Linked DNA regions of Homo sapiens: region 1 is linked to region 2. The links are contacts of gene promoters, found by promoter capture Hi-C in blood cells and fetal thymus (Javierre and others, 2016). All regions are on one chromosome and are shown on one strand. Each heading gives the region's core, a stretch centred on a gene start or on the middle of the fragment in contact. The rest is flanking DNA. Distances are from core to core; before and after follow the strand shown.

What was found. The method cuts DNA at HindIII sites, captures the fragments that hold promoters and counts their contacts. A CHiCAGO score of 5 or more calls a contact.
Region 1: a contact is called between a fragment that was not itself captured here and the fragment with the promoter of SVOPL in region 2, in 10 of 17 cell types (naive CD4 T cells, non-activated CD4 T cells, naive CD8 T cells and 7 more). The highest score is 9.7, in naive CD4 T cells.

What each region holds. Positions count from the first base shown.
Region 1 is chr7:138,162,764-138,167,795 of GRCh38, reverse strand. LOC107986749 (a long non-coding RNA gene) reads right to left here. Exons shown (of 3, transcript XR_001745033.3): 2 at 4,294-4,420; 3 at 2,311-3,552. Among named protein-coding and RNA genes, the nearest start is that of MIR4468, 42 kb to the right of the region's middle. RefSeq lists an enhancer at 2,782-3,981. The HindIII fragment of the contact is 153 bases long and covers 1,316-1,468 here.
Region 2 is chr7:138,698,725-138,703,847 of GRCh38, reverse strand. It overlaps SVOPL (SVOP like), which reads left to right and starts at 2,486. Exons shown (of 16, transcript NM_001139456.2): 1 at 2,486-2,670. It also overlaps the pseudogene UQCRFS1P2. The HindIII fragment of the contact is 672 bases long and covers 2,277-2,948 here.

The sequences.
Region 1 (5,032 bases), core at 143-2,642, 530 kb after region 2:
CCATTCTGAAGATTTGAGGCTGAAAGTCTGGGGAAATAAGCTGGCAATAGACAGATTAAAAGGAGAAAAAAATATATATATACATTTTATTAACATGCAGAAAGGCATCACATGGAAGTTAAGAAACTACCCAATAACTCAATGAGACCTAAAAGCTTTTATATTCCCTTCATAAGAGAGAGGGAAGGGGAGTATGTAGGCAACCTAGGGAGAGTAAATGATTATGAAAAGTACGAATCAGCCTTCAGAAGAATAGGTTATATCCTGTCTGTAGGAGGTGCTAACCTCCAGCTTTTTCTAGGTTTGACTTCTGTTGTGTGTTAATCTTCACGGATAGATAAAAATCCCCAGGAAGCATTTCTTGACAATTGGCTTCCTTCTGGAGAATCTGCACTTAGTCAGATAAGGGAAATTCAGGAAAAGCCCCTCTGTGCGTTTGGCATTTCCCAAATGACTTCAGTTTGAAGTAATCAGCATACCAATGCTGCATATTTTGGGGTGATATTTCTGAACTCTCTCAGGAAAAATATACTCCTGGATGGTAGGTTAATATTTGAAATTGTCAGTTCAGGCTTGGCTTGGTGGCTCACGCAGGTAATCCCGGGACTTTGTGAGGCCAAGGTGGGTGTGGATCACTTGAAGTCGGGAGTTCGAGACCAGCCTGGCCAACATGGCAAAACCCCGTCTCTACTAAAAATTCAAAAAAAGAATTAGCTAGGCATTGGGTTCATGTCTGTAATTTCAGCTACTTGGTGGGGGCTAAAGCAGGAGAATCGCTTGAAACTGGGAGGCAGAGGTTGCAGTGAGCCGGGATCGTGCCACTGCACTCCAGCCTCAGCAACAAAGTGAGGCTTCATCTCACACACAAAAAAAGAAATTCTCCATTCAGAAGCCACATTCCAGAAGGATTAGATTATGGCTCCAGTCGTCTTTATCTCATATCAATCCCAGGGGGTTTGTTAATTAGCATAAGGGATGTTAGAAATGATTTTTTACTGGTAAAATGAATTCAATTTTATGTGGATTGGATAAAAATGTCTTATGGATACTCTTGCCTTTGCATAAATGAGGTGTAAAAGTCCAGCTAGCCTGTCTATTCATTTTGAATTATGTCTCCAGGCTTGAAATTCTAGACTGTTTGAATTATCTCTCCAGGCTTGAAATTCTAGACTGTAGTGAGAGAATTTTTCACCTGACTCTCATTTGAGAGTTAGTTAATCCTGCTCCAAAGCTGGAACATGGTCCTCCTGTCTCTGACGCTCATAAGGTTCTGTGGGAACACTGAAAGGTCAGAGAGCTAAGACTTCATCAAGCTTATAAAACGGGTAGTATGACTATTTGGAGGGCCTGATTGCTAATACATATTTATACCCATGGCTGAATGAGGTCTGAAATTTGCTTTCATTATAACATACCATTTGGAATTGAAGTCTCTATGGTTGTCACCAAATTCTAATTACTGGAAGCTTTGGAGAGCTAATCATAAAGCAACTAATAAGGGTGTATGACCAAATTGGCTTAAGTATCTTGAAAACAGCATTGAAGCTACTTTTTTTTTTGAGATGGAGTTTTGCTGTTTCACCCAGGCTGGAGTAAAGTGGCACAATCTCAGCTCACTGCAACCTCCATCTGCTGGGTTCAAGCAATTCTCCTCAGCCTCCCAAGTAGCTGGGATTATAGGCACCCACCACCATGACCAGCTAATGTTTGTATTTTTAGTAAAGACAGGGTTTCACCATGTTGGCCAGGCTGGTCTCGAACTCCTGACCTCAGGTAATCCACCCCCTCCCCCGCCCTTGGCCTCCCAAAGTGCTAGGATTACAGGCATGAGCTACCGTGCCTGGCTGCAGCTACTTCTTTATATGATTCATGGCTTTTGGCCACAAATGCATGCAAGTAACTAGATGAATACGTATATTACTTGCATGTGCATTAAAATTATTTCTTCTTTTTCAAATTATTCCTTCTTTGCACCAGCTAGAATTTAAATATATCTACCTGATTCGGAGCATTTGGCAGAGATATTAGAGATGGAACAAGATCCAGAGAGGGTCTAATGAAATAATAATTGTGGTGGCACATGCCTGTAGTCCCAGCTACTTGGGAAGCTGAGTTTGGAGGATCACTTGAACCTGGGAGGCAGAGGTTGCAGTGAGCCCAGATTGCACCACTACACTCTAGCCTGGGTGACAGAGTGAGACCCTATCTCAAAAAAAAAAAAAAAAAAAAAAAAAAAAAAAAAAGAAAGAAGAAAGAAAAAACCTTAATAATAATTATATAATTATAATTATAGTAAAAGTAGCAAGTAGCTTTTTCCTTTTTGCAAAATTAATTCTACCTTTCAGCATGTACAAAAGTACATTCTAGAAAGATTAAAGAAATAGATATAAACACCATAAAAATCATGGAAGAAACACATAATATTTTAATCTTGGGGATAAGAAAATCATCTCAAGCAAGAAACACTTGAGAAAAAAATAATTTTTGCTCACTAATCTCTAGGTTCATGGCTGAGGCCCCTATAACAAAATACAGATTCACAAGAGAAAATCATACACATATTATTTATACGTGGTATGGAAGCCTTCATAAGGAAAGGAAGACCTCCCCCAAATGCATAAATTTGTATATTCTTTATGCTAGGTTTGATGAAGAAATATGATTGAACAAAGGGAGAATGATATCATTGAGAGAGGAAGGAGGAAGAAACCAGTCAGGCAGGCAGTTATGGTGGGTCCTTGGTTGAATCTTTTCAAACAAAAGAACAGCCAGAAAAATCAAGCTGCAGGCACAGATAAGGGAACTTGCACAGCGGCACTTGCCTAAGACATGCCCACAGCCACACAGATAAGAAAGCCTACACAGGTGACTTGCCCAGACATGCCCGTAATGGAAAATTCCATCCCCTGACACATGTGCAGTAAGGGCAACAAAGCAATACGGAGTAACTCAAGCTAAGGGCCTACATGTGCATTAGGAGGATGGGGTGGAGCTACCAGAAATTCGCATCTCATGCAAATGAGATGCCCAGCTCTAACTGGTTTCTTATAAAAGCCTTTGCATTCAACTGTAAAAATGGCAACCCTCTTTTGGGCCCCTTTCTGTGGTGGAGAACTTTCTTCTTTTGCTTATTAAACTTCCACTCCAACCTCACCCTTGGTGATCATGTTCCTTAATTGTCATGGTTGTGAGACCGAGAACTCAGGGTGATACCTCAAACGAGAGACTGCTACATTGCGGTGCGTTGGTGAGACTGTAACATAATGTTAATAAACTGGGGAGAACTTAGGAAGCCGTTTGTTCAAACTCTTCTCTTTGTCCTTGTATCTTCAGAAATGAGGATGTTGCTATCTTCTGGGTATAGGGAGGGCACCTCTCACATGAGGGTCATAAGACCTACTTGAGGGGATGGTCAGGAAATCCTTCCTAGGTTTTATGATCTGTTTCAGGGGAGTAGAGCATTGTGGGGGAGGTAGTGAGCGTGACCTTCCTGCTTCTGCTGTCTTCTCAAATGCCAAGTTTTCACATTTTGGGGTAGCATGTCCTGAATTCCTTCAACATGAAACCCAGAGTTAGAAAAAGAAAAGATTGAGCAACTTAATTAGATAAAAGCAAAATATTAAGCAATGACAAAAGATATCATTAAAAATGTTGTTAAAAGGGAAAAAAAAAGAGGAAAAAAAAGAAAACAAACAAAATGTTGTTAAAAAGCCACAGTTTGGCTGGGTGCAGTGGCTTGCACCTGTAATCCCAGCGCTTTGAGAAGCCAAGCAGGAGGATCTCTTCAGTCCAGGAGCTCAAGACCAGCCTGGGCAACACAGTGAGACACCTGTCTCTACAACCCCCCCATCCCACTTCCCAATGCACACAAACAACAATTTGGCAGAAAATATTTGCAATGTGTAAGAAAAAATCAGAAAATACTTACACTTGAGCTAATTAATTGATGACAGAGATGATGGTTCTTAATCATTGAGAACCTCATTGAGGGTTTGTCATCTATCTCAGTATCATAATTTTTCTCACACATAATGACATAATTTGAACATGTTTTCATATTATTAAGTATGTTTCTAGAACCATAATTCTTAATAGTCCCACAGAAATTCACTATGCTGAGTGTGGTGTTGAATGCTGGGGTCACCACAGTGGAGCAGCCCTGGAGGAGAATGAGCAGGGTGCTTTCATCAGTGACCCTCCTCTATCCTTTCCAGTCAGTGACACAGGCTCTTGTCAATCAACGGTGGACAATCATTTATAAAGTGTCCCAAATGATTAACTTGCATGGGTTACCTGTGTCTGCTGTTCCAGAACTGATTCAATTTCTTCAAATCCTTTTCTCCTCCTCCTCCTCCTTCTCTGCTTCCTCCTCCTCCTTCTCCTCTTCCTCCTCCTCCTCCTCTTCTTTCCCTTTTTTAAGCTAAAGATGGAAAAGAGAGGCAGGAGGAAAACATGTGGTAGTACGAAACCAGTAAATGTGTGAAAACTCCATGACTAATATTCTCAAATTATAAGCAGCTTTCTCAATGAATATATATCTATCAGTATCTATATCTATATATAGATAAAGATATAAAATTCCTCGTATTAATAGATATTTTTATAAAATAACCAGAAACTGGGTTTGACTGGAAGTTAAATGTAATACTTCCTTTCTGATACCCTTAAATAATACTTTAATTCACAGGGAATATCAAATGAAAACTGTTTTAATAGTAGTTTCTTATTTATAGATTTTGAAAAAGTTTTTTTCCTGTTAGAGCAAGCATATTGCAATTTATTTAACAATTAAATGAATTAAAATATTTTGTTTGAGAAGTTCATGATTTCAAATGATTCTAATAAAATGCTAAATGTTTTACATTTGTAACATAAGTGAAAAGCAATGAAATTGCTATAGGAAAATTAAAACACATTCTAAAATACAATGTTTCAATGTTTTCATAAGTTTATGACCTAGTAATAAGTTCTGATTAAGAAGTAGAAAGCCCTTAAATGTGGAAAGAGGAAAAAAAATCCATTCAAAGCCTCA
Region 2 (5,123 bases), core at 1,237-3,736:
CAGCATGCAAATGGAGGGATAAGAAATCTACCAATCCCATGCTGCCATGGCCACTGGACGATTTTCAGGTTCTCAGCTCACAAATGTCCTTCTCAACAACTATCTAAAAAGAACCCTGTGCTTAAATGGATCACCAGCCTGTTGATCCTTAAGTCTATTTTTTTTTTAATTTTTATATACCACTGTGTAGTTTTAAATTAGAATTAGGCCAGGCATGGTGGCTCACGCCTGTAATCCCAGCACTTTGGGAGGTCGAGGTGGGTGAATTGCTTGAGGCCAGGATTTTGGGACCAGCCTGGCCAACTGGTGAAACTCCTCATCTACTGAACGTATGAAAATTAGCCAGGCATGGTGGTGTATGCCTGTAATCCCAGCTACTCAGGAGGCTGAGGCAGGAGAATCACTTGAACCCGGGAGGCGGAGGTTGCAGTAAGCCGAGATCACGCCACTGCACTTCAGCCTGGGAGACAGAGCGAGACACCATCTCAAAAAAATAAAAACAAAAAATTTTTTTAAAGTAAAAAATTAGAACTACCTAAAAGACATTGCACCTTTCAAGTGTATGACAGTGTAACAGTGTTTAACAGTTGTTTTATTAAGTGAATGCTTGAACGTATTCAACATTAAATTCAATTTACTTCACAGTAATGTTTGCAAATACATTATCACTTCTTAAATATTTCAAATCAAGCAACTTGAAGTTCAGAAGGCTTGCTCTCAAATAACTCTTCTACAGTGACGCAAAGACTGAAAGGAGCCTACAACTTGAGTCCCAGTCTCTAACCAACAATGACTGTGTCCTCACTGGTGAACCCATATGAGGGAGCTCCAAGCTCAAGAGGGGCAGGCCCCTTCCAGATCCTCCCAGATGCATCTGTGTGACCCCCAGCAAGGGCAGTAATCACCACCAAAATCTTCATTTGCAATAGGTGTACAACAGGATGAATGCAAACGCCTAGTAAAGAAACTCGAATGGGTTACCCTGATAGGCATTGCACTCATTCTTTACTCCTTTTTTATCTTTTTTTTTTTTTTTTCAGACAGAGTCTCACTCTCTCTCCCAGGCTGGAGTGTGCAGTGGCGCGATCTTGGCTCACTGCAACCTCCGCCTCCCAGGTTCAAGCACTTCTCCTGCCTCATTCTCCCGAGTAGCTGGGATTACAGGCATGGACCACCACGCCTGACTAATTTTTGTATTTTTAGTAGAGACGGAGTTTCACCATGTTTGCCAGGCTGGTCTTGAACTCCTGACCTCAAGTGATTCACCCGCCTTGGCCTCCCAAAGTGCTTGGATTACAGGTGTGAGCCACCACTCCCGGCCCATCCTTTACTTCTTCTTCTTCTTCTTTTTTTTTTTTTTTTTTGAGACAGATTCTCACTGTGTTGCCCAGGCTGGAGTGCAATGGTGCAATCTCGGCTCACTGCAACCTCTGCCTCCCAGGTTCAAGTGATTTTCCTGCCTCAGCCTCCCGAGTAGCTGGGATTACAGGCACATGCCACCACGCCTGGCTAATTTTGTATTTTTAGTAGAGATGGGGTTTCGCCATGTTGGCCAGGCTGGTCTTGAGCTCCTGACCTCAAGTGATCTGCCCACCTCGGCCTTCCAAAGTGCTGGAATTACAGGCATGAGCCACTGTGCCTGGCCCTTAAATCATGCTATGGGCCCTCAGCTGGGACTCTTCAACTGCAGGTTCTTGGTCAATTTCCTTCTTGGTTCTGTGGCATACAAACAGGGATTTGCCTCTCCATTTGAAAGCCATGTTCTTGCCTTCTGGAATATCAAATAACTTGATTGCAATTTTCGACACGGCCGACTCATCAGCAGAAGCACTGATGCTGGAAACAAACTGGGAGATGACATTCTTGGCAGCATATGTGACACCCACAGCAGTTGTTGCAGTTACCAAATAGGAGAACCCTTTCCTAGCCTCGCCATCCTCTTTTGAAGACTTTGTCCCATCAAAAATCTCAATGCAACAGTAATCAGGGAAGTCAGGCACATTGATGTCTGTATGGGAATAACGAACAGAAGCAGGGACATTGAGGCCCACAGAGTTGACCCAAGACAGGCTCATGGCCTGGCCACTCAGTGACTCCTGGCATAGCAAAGGCTGCTCTTGTACAGCACAGGCAGCTTCAGGGTGGCAGGCACCATGGCCTATACCAGGGGCTACAGCATGCCTGCCACCCTGCAGGATATGGCTGACAGGATGGGCATGAACCTGCTCCTTAATTCTAAGCAATGGCTGTGAGCAAATGTTTGCAAGGGCAAAGCTTCCCTCTGCCCCTTGCCTAGGTCTTCTCTTTCAGAAATTCTTCCAGCTGTCCTGAGAACAACATAGTAATTTCCTCCAAAGTTCGGCAGCCTCTTTCAGTCTTAACAAGAAATGTAATTTCCCCTTTAAAAGGAGATCAAGTGCAGGCTGCTGAGAAGAGGGTGTGCCCTAGGTGTCATTCACTTGCCCAGAATGCGAAGTTGGCCCTTAAAGAATCCTGATCTGAGACCCGACCTGAAAGGAGAGGATAAGACCAGGGAGCCAGGCGTCTTGGGAACACAAGTCTGGCCACCCCTGAGAAGCCATCTGTGCTCCAATTTCCGTCTAAGACTTGGCCACGGTGAGGGGAGCAAAAGAGCCTGAAATTGGAAGACTGTCCAAGGAATATACAGAGGTGAGAAATTTGTGGGCAACATTGATCTGGACTTATTTTTTCCTGCTGCTGTAGAGGGTGGGGTGGGGCATTGACTGTTAGTTTGTGGCCGAAGGCAAATGGAGCATGAAAATTTCCTTGGATATTGCAAAACAAATTACATCACACATCACACACAAAACTCAGTTTAAAAAAGATCTACTGTGGCCCAATTATTTCTGGTTAAAAAACAATCAGTATAACAAAATACAATAGAATAAAATGTCAATCAGTCCTTTAGAATTTGTTTTAATGAAGCTTGAACTCCATCTGAGTTCAGGGAAAATCCCCAATCTATCAGTTTCTCACCAGGTTTTGTGAAGGTAGGTCATGGATTACTTTCCCATTGTAGCTTTTTAGGAACTTATAGTGAGGGACGCGAAGCATTCTTTTCCATGTTATTCCCTATTTTCCTGAGTTGGTCTAACTGATCATCCATCTGCCATCCATCCATCCATCCATCCATCCATCCATCCATCCTCTTACTGGGTTAGAAAGGATTTAGAATGACACAGGAAACCAGCCGGGTGCGGTGGCTCACGCCTGTAATCCCAGCACTTTGGGAGGCTGAGGTGGGTGGATCACAAGGTCAGGAGTTCAAGACCAGCCTGACCAAGATGGTGAAACCCCGTCTCTACTAAAAATACAAAAAAATTAGCCATGCATGGTGGTGGGTGCCTGTAATCCCAGGTACTCAGGAGGCTGAGGCAGAAGAATCGCTTGAACCCGGGAGGCAGAGGTTGCAGTGAGCCAAGATCACACCACGGCACTCCAGCCTGGGCAACAGAGTAAGACTCTGTCTCAAAAAAAAAAAAAAAAAAAAAGACATACGGAACCAAAGAACAGAGTATGTCAATTCAGCCTTTCCAGCATTCCATTGCTGAGTTAAGATTGCAAGCTCTATCTCTCAATAATGTTCCTCATCTCCATCTCTCAAACATGTTGTTCTCTTCTTTCTTCATGTAGCTTTTGGCTGAAACTCTAGAGACTACCAAGAAAATACATTTCATATATATGCTAACTAACTTTGAGTTTGTGTTTGAGTGTCCTTTTAATGACTTGGAGAGTAAGCCCCTTTCCAAGGTACAGATGTGAACGCTACAATCCTGATAATCTCCTGCCAACAGCCCTGTGCCCTGCAACTTGCTCCACCAAAGGAATCCTGTTGTTGAAAACTCTGTATCCTAATAGGGTGGGAATGAGGACTTTCTCTGTTGCAGGTAAACCTGTACGTTTGTTTCTTCCCCCTCTTGGCAAATTCCCCTGACACCGGGGACCCACCCGGCCCTGATTATCTTCAAGGGCTATGCATTGGGAAGACCAGTGTTACAAGTGACGGGCACTGAACGCTGTTCCGGTGGCGGGGCGAGGGCTGACTTGCTCCTCGGAGCCACACCTCACCACCAGCCCTTTTTTTCCACCCTCACCCCACCCCCTGCACCAACTATGCCTTTGGAAGAACTGAAGTTTGAAAGCTTCTTCTTCCTCTAAAATATATTGATTTTGCAATGTAGAACACAGGAGAATTTTGGTGAAAAGTATCCATTTTGTCGTGCCTCTCATAAGTAAGATGAAGTGACTAGTTTGGAGAGGTTTTGAGGTCTTATTTTCCAGTAGGAAAGTAGCACACTGAGGTCACAATTTCCCAACACCACTCAAGTTTACCCATGAAATAAAATCAACCTAGTTTAGAAAACAAGTGACTTTTTCCTCCCCTCTTTGGGTAATTTTTTATTTGATCCCAGTGTGTTCTAATATTAGCAGAATATTAGCAATAAATGCCTTTTGGAGACATATATGTATTTGGTAACTCTTTAGATACTTTATTTTTGTTTTTATTATTTTTTTATTTTTTGAGATGGAGTTTCGCTGTTGTCGCCCAGGATGGAGTGCAATGGCACAATCTCAGCTCACTGTAACCTCCGCCTCCCAGGTTCAAGAGATTCTCCTGCCTCAGCCTCCCAAGTAGCTGGGACTACACCCGCTACCACACCCAGCTAATTTTTTGGAGACGGAGTTTCACTCTGTCACCTAGGCTGGAGTGCAGTGGCATGATCTCAGCTCACTGCAACCTCCGCCTCCTGGGTTCAAGCAATTCTCCTGCCTCAGCCTCCCGAGTAGTTGGGACTACAGGCATGTGCTACCATATCCAGCTAATTTTTTGTATTTTTAGTAGAGATGAGGTTTCACCGTGTTCCCCAGGCTGGTCCCAAACTCCTGACCTCAGGTGATCCACCCTCCTGGGCCTCCCAAAGTGCTGGGATTACAGGTGTGAGCCACCGCCCCCAGCCTGTACATACGTTAAAACATTTCCTGAGTAAATGCTTTGTGATTATGGTGAATTGTAAAAATTTGTTCGATGGCTTTGCTCAGAGGTGAGAGACAGTACTACCATGAGGACTTTTGATGCAATGGCACATTGACATATTTTATAA